2 separate regions of the Homo sapiens genome follow, and region 1 is linked to region 2. Evidence: promoter capture Hi-C in 16 types of primary human blood cells and fetal thymus (Javierre and others, 2016). All regions are on one chromosome and are shown on one strand. The core of a region is centred on a gene start or on the middle of the fragment in contact, and the rest is flanking DNA. Distances in the headings are between cores, read along the strand shown.

The links. Contacts are between HindIII fragments. The CHiCAGO score rates a contact against its expected background, and 5 or more counts as called.
Region 1: a fragment that was not itself captured here is called in contact with the fragment with the promoter of DZIP1L in region 2 in 2 of 17 cell types (M1 macrophages and monocytes); the score reaches 6.8 in M1 macrophages.

What each region holds. Positions count from the first base shown.
Region 1 is chr3:138,219,650-138,222,617 of GRCh38, forward strand. It overlaps ARMC8 (armadillo repeat containing 8), which reads left to right. Exons shown (of 22, transcript NM_001363941.2): 3 at 2,277-2,348. Among named protein-coding and RNA genes, the nearest start is that of ARMC8, 34 kb to the left of the region's middle. The HindIII fragment of the contact is 2,960 bases long and covers 1-2,852 here.
Region 2 is chr3:138,114,314-138,117,163 of GRCh38, forward strand. It overlaps DZIP1L (DAZ interacting zinc finger protein 1 like), which reads right to left and starts at 1,295. Exons shown (of 16, transcript NM_173543.3): 1 at 1,015-1,295. RefSeq lists enhancers at 606-1,107, 1,108-1,607 and a silencer at 730-949. The HindIII fragment of the contact is 15,110 bases long and covers 1-2,850 here.

The sequences.
Region 1 (2,968 bases), core at 123-2,622, 110 kb after region 2:
GCAACAATTGAATAGAATTTATTAACATCTTTTTTTCCTTATCTAGCACAGGTATATTTACTTACTAAAGCCAAAGCGAGAATCTTTTTCTTTAGACATTGTTCCATTGTATTGTGTTCTCTTTAGTTGGCATTTCCTCTGTTGCCATCAGTTACCTCCTTCATGTCCTTTTTGTAAACTATTAAGAGAATTAGAAAATTGGTGTTGGACAGGTTTTTGTTTGCTCTTGTCTGTAAAAACATGGCATGGTTTGAGATGTTTGGAATGGGTTCATTTGGTAATGTTAGGGACCGCTCATTTCTGCTTAAGAAGAATGGAGAGGAAAAACTGGGGAAATATTAGGGTTGGGAGTTCTGGAATAGAAAGCATTCAGAATGGCACTTAGCCTACACAGACTCTAAGTAGGTAGGGGCTGGATAAATGAATGTTCTACATTAGTATAGGCAGAACACATTAAGAGAAAGGAAGACAATGAAAGTGAACAACAAGCTGGTAGGTTAAGGTCCATATGCTGATGATTAGGAACTAAAGCCTCTAAAGAAAACAGGCATCCATGAGGATGCGGGAGCTTAGAAATCTCTTACTAACTTTAACTTTGCTAATTGATCCTTTGATATCATATAGTTTTATATTCATGTATCAGAACTTGCTAACAACCTCAGTAAACTTCATTCAGTTCAGTCCCATAAACAACAACAAAAAAATTGCTACTTATTTCTTGTAAACCATATAGAAGATCTGAGGGATACTTTACAGAGGGATAGGTCAGGCCTGGAAAAAAAGCCCTACCCTCAGGCACTGAGCTAATGGAAGAAAGACCAGGCATTCTCAGTATTTGGCTTGACTTGTAAAAATGCCATTCAGAAACTTGTAGGGAAAATCTGCTTTTAGCACATCACTAGTTGTTGCAGTATTTTTCTGCAATAATCAAAAAAGGCAATTGAAGACAAGGGTTAATCGTTACCAGGTTCTTTAATGCCAGTAAATATGATTGGTGTTAGAAATGTATGCTGACTATAACATTTATTTGTTGATTTTTTTTTCTTTTTTTTTTTTTTGAGATGGAGTCTCGTTCTGTCACCCTGACTGGGGTGCAGTGGCGCGATCTCTGCTCACTGCAACCTCCACCTCCCCAGCTGAAGTGATCCTCCTACCTTAGCCCCCCAGGTAGCTGGGACCACAAGTGCGTGCCACCACACCTGGCTAATTTTTGTATTATTTGTAGAGATGGAGTTTCGCCATGTTGTTCAGTCTGATCTTGAACTCCTGAGTTCAAGCAATCTGCCTGCCTAGGCCTCCCAAAGAGCTGGGATTACAGGTGTGAGTCACCGTGCCCGGCCAGGGAAGTTTTTTTAAACATTTTATTAGTAGTACTGGGTTTATTTTGAGCTATTTATTTTTTCTCTACATTTCCTTTTGAACCAACCACAAATTTGTGAGCCAAGTGATCAGTGGTAGAGGTTCTCTTATTGTGGAATAGAGTTTTGCTCCTGGTGAAGTATAGAGCTCTGTATAGCTAGAATAAAAAATACTGTGAATATCTGAGAAATGTAAAAGATTCTTTGTTATTTTTTAAATCGCCTTAAGAGATAACTGGCTGCTTAAGCAAAAATAGTAACAATGTATTATGTTGTTTCTAAGCAATTTAAAAATATTGTATAACAGCAGCCCAAAAAATGAATGGGAAAGTGGAAATACATATGCAAGGCTCTTAAAATACATGTGCAATGGGCTAATATCACTTGAAGACTGACTGTGATAAATTAAAAGATGCATTGGAAAATAACAAAGGAGTACAGTTAGTAAGACAATAAAGCAGATAAAATGGAATTGTAAGAAATAATATATAAAGAAGTAAAAAAAAAAGTGAACAAAGTGTGATCATTGAAACAAGGAGTTAATGTTCTGTGGGCTGTTTTTTCTGTTGTTGTTGTTGTTCGTTTAACTCACTCCCTACTCTTAGAGCTGAGCGTGAGGGTGGCCTGTATTCCTTTGTATCCAAAGTATTGGTAGGTACCCTTTCTAGAAGAACTCAATTCTGTACTGGAAGTCTTTCGCCAGTACTCAGGATATCTCTCACTTTCTACAATACGCCGTTTTACAGCCCCCACATTCACTCTGCACCTATCTCTATCCCTTCATTAGTACTTTAGGTGAAAAAAGGTTAGTGCTTTTACTTTGTCAAATCTAAGATATTGCATAATGAAGTAGAATGATCTTTGATTTTTCTTCAGTGCTGTCTCAACATACTTTATTTTTTCTTCCCCTTAATTCAGAGACATGAAAAATGCTGTAATTGGAAACAACAAGCAGAAAGCCAATCTCATTGTTTTAGGAGCTGTTCCAAGGTATGTTTGCTGTCTCACCCCTTTCTTGCCATTCATACTAGTTTCTAATGTATTTCTTACTCTCAATTATAGAACCCATTTTTCCTGTATTGTCTGTCTAATTCTTAAAATAAATCCTATTTTTAAAAATAAATGTAAGTATTTAAACTATCTTTAAGGAAAAAAATTATAAAGTAACAGAGAATGTAGTAAGAAGTGAATGTGTTAATACATTTTGGAAACTCAGGAAGACCTTTGACCTGATGACAAAAGGGTTCGTAAAGTACATATGCAATGTACAACAGCCTGATACTTTCTTCTCCATTTCCTTAGAGCCTTGGCAGTTTTTTGTGTGAGTGGGTAATTTATTAGGAGCCTTAAGACCTTTTTGAATTTAAAGGAAAAAAACCCTGCTTGATTTTTAATCCAGTTTCATTTTTTAACTTCTGATTTTTACAACTTGCTGTTTTTTAAGTTAACGTAAGAAGTTTAGGAAGTTTAATTTCTTCTTTTGATGACCTAATAAGCTTCCTTTAGGCAGGCAATGACAGTTACATAACTTCCTCTTTACTTTTGCTCCTCAGAGCTAAGTTTTCTGTGCAATTGCTATTAGCTTTTCATTCAGAATTATTTATTATTTT
Region 2 (2,850 bases), core at 45-2,544:
CCCACATGAACTCAGGTTTCTGTTCCCAACCTGAAGCATACAACTTCATGAGGTATTTTATCAAGTTAGATAGTATCAAAAAATATTCCCAGATGAGGGAGGTGTCTGACCAAGACAGTCAGAAGGCCCCTTATCAGCCACTAGACTGGAGGATCAGCCTTCCCTAAGCAGGATTGTTCTCACTGGCCAGTCCTCACATCCGGGAGGGGGAGGAGAGGTGCTAGGGGCTGCAACTGAGAAGGGAGAGATCACCCACCCTATCTGCAGATGAGGGTGTGAGAAGCCAAGTCAGAACACCCCATACTTCCCAGGCCTCTCTCCAAAGTCCTGTTAGAAATCGAATTCCAGGAGACCAGGCAGGGGCAGCCTAGGCCCTGGGCCCCTAGGAAGTGCTCCGTGAACTAGGCCCTGCCCAGGCAGCCTCGGACCCCCTCCTCTGCCCTGCCTCCTGATCCCTGTCCTGCACTGAGCAGGTCTTCGGTGGACTTTATGCGCAGCCACCTCAGGATGAAAATACCACGTCTGCCTCCTGCTGAGGTCCAGCCCAGGAAAGGAAGAAGGGGAACGAAAGATGCCAATGCGATTGCTTTTAAATCACCTCATTACTAAAAGAATCCTCCTTTACCTACGGCACTCAGATCATCAAGCCCTCCCAAATCACTTTTCTTTTTTCAAAAAGTAAAAACCCAAGGCCGTCTTCCCAGTGAAGCCGAGTCTTGGGGCATCCCGTCATTCGTCCCCCGCGCACGGGTCCTTCCCTCCCTGGGCGCCGCAGTTCGGAGCAGGCCGAGGGGGCCGGGCTGCAGGGCCGCGCCGGGCCAGAAGGGCGCGCCCTGGGCAGCGCGGACGCACGCAGCCGGCTCCTCCCGCGCCCCGCTGCACCCCGGCAGGGAGTTCGCCCCCGCTAATGTTTAACCTCCCGAATCGCTGATCCCTCGGACTGCAGCCAAGCTACCCACCCGCCCCGCTCCCGGGACGAATTCCTGGCATAGTTTTCCCGCGCGGCCCGCTCACCGTGGGGTCTCCTGGAGCCGGGGACGGCGGGAAGACGTCTCGAGGTGGCGGCTCCCATACTCGCCCCACGTCCCGCCTCCAGACTTGCTCCACCGCCCCAGACAGCCCAGAGATGGTTCCCGGAATGCTCACCGCCCGCCGTTCCCGGGATGCTTCCCCAGCCCCACGCAGTCCGGGCGCTCTCTGCGGCGGAGGCAGAGCCTGCCCGGCCCACTCCAGTGCCGCCAACCTGCGGGACCGCGGACAGAGAGCTCCTCGGTGCGTCGGTCAGCTCGTGGCTTGGGGTCTCTGGTGCCTCCAGCTCCTACTACAGCCGCCCCGCCCCACCTCAAGAAGAGGTGGAGCCTCTCCCGGCCCCTCTCGGACGAGCTATTTTTAGGTCTGTAACGGATGGGGGAAGGCGGGAATGCCACGTTTAATCCGTTAGTAAAATCCAGGATCCAAGTGAATGGCTTCCTGGCCTTGCTGAGAGGCTGGACTTGCCCCGGTTTCCCCACACCCTGCCTCCGGTACAATCGATAGCCTGCTGTGCAGGGGCGGCCGCACCCCCCGGGCAGATAGCCCTGCCCACCCTCCTAAAGGGACCGTCCTGGTTTCTTCCTGACCGGATCCCAAGCTAGGAGAGTTCTTTGGGTGTGCCCCAGGTCTGATCAGACAGACAGCAGCCACCTTCCCTCCGCAGCCCCCACCCACCACCCCCTACCCTCCCAACCTGCTGGTTTGCCCTGGGGATGCCAACTTGGAAACCCAGGACTGAAAAACTTATTTTTTCTCCTGATATTAGTCCCTGATCTCTTCCCATAGTAGTAGTTGCTTTGCTGAGATTCCGTTTTGTGGGCACCGTAACTGTGAGTTGTGCCATAGAGCTGATATTTGGTCAAAATGTTTGTTGCTCAACTCAAATTGATAGGAGCAGGGAAAGGCTGCCCTGAGGCTTCTTGTGGACTCCTTGCAGAGATGGTTAGTCCTGGCCAGCCTGGCTAAGCACTGGCAATGTCTCCTGTCCCTAGGCCCGGCAACTCTAGTAGTTCTGGCTTAGTCACTGAAGGTGAACTCCTTCATGGCAAAGAAAACGCTAGTATGTTCTAAGCCAGTTTTCTTTCACATGTGAAAAGCAGTTATGTTTGTTTTACAATTCTGCATCTGGGAAGATAGGACATGTCAGTATTCATTCCTCTTCTCTAGAGCACTCACAAGGGGCATCAGTCAAATACCTACCCCTATTTTTATTTTAAATAAAATCCTTTTGTGGCAAAAACTTAATAGGCATTTGATAAAACCATGGCCACTTAAAAATATCTCCTTAAAGTTGCTGGGAATAGGAGGCCAGGTGTAAGGAGAGCTCTGCGCCTGGTGGAGGGAACCTCTGTCTCGCTGCTTGAAGGTTCTAGGAGTCGCTGCAGCCCCCATGAGGGTCAGGGAAGAGTGGGAAAAAAGCTCCTTTTCACACACACTCTCTCTCTCTCCACTCCGCAACTCTTCTCCCTCCCTCTTTCTCTTTTTTCCATTTCAAAGGCTTTCGTCCCACCACAATCTCAATCTGCCAAGCTCTACATTTTGAGGCAGCCAAAGCAAATGTGTATGGGAACAAGCGTTGTCAAGGACTTGCAGGGAAACTGGAACTCCTGTGCATTGCTGGTGGGAATGTAAAATGGTACCATTACTGTGGATACAGAATGGTAGTTCCTCAAAAAATTAAACAAGAATTGCCAAAAGATCCAACAATTCCATTTCTGGGTATATACCCCAAAGAACTGAAAGCAGGGATTCAAACAGATATTTGTATACTCATGTTCATAATAGCATTATTCACAATAGCCAAAAAGTGGAAACAAT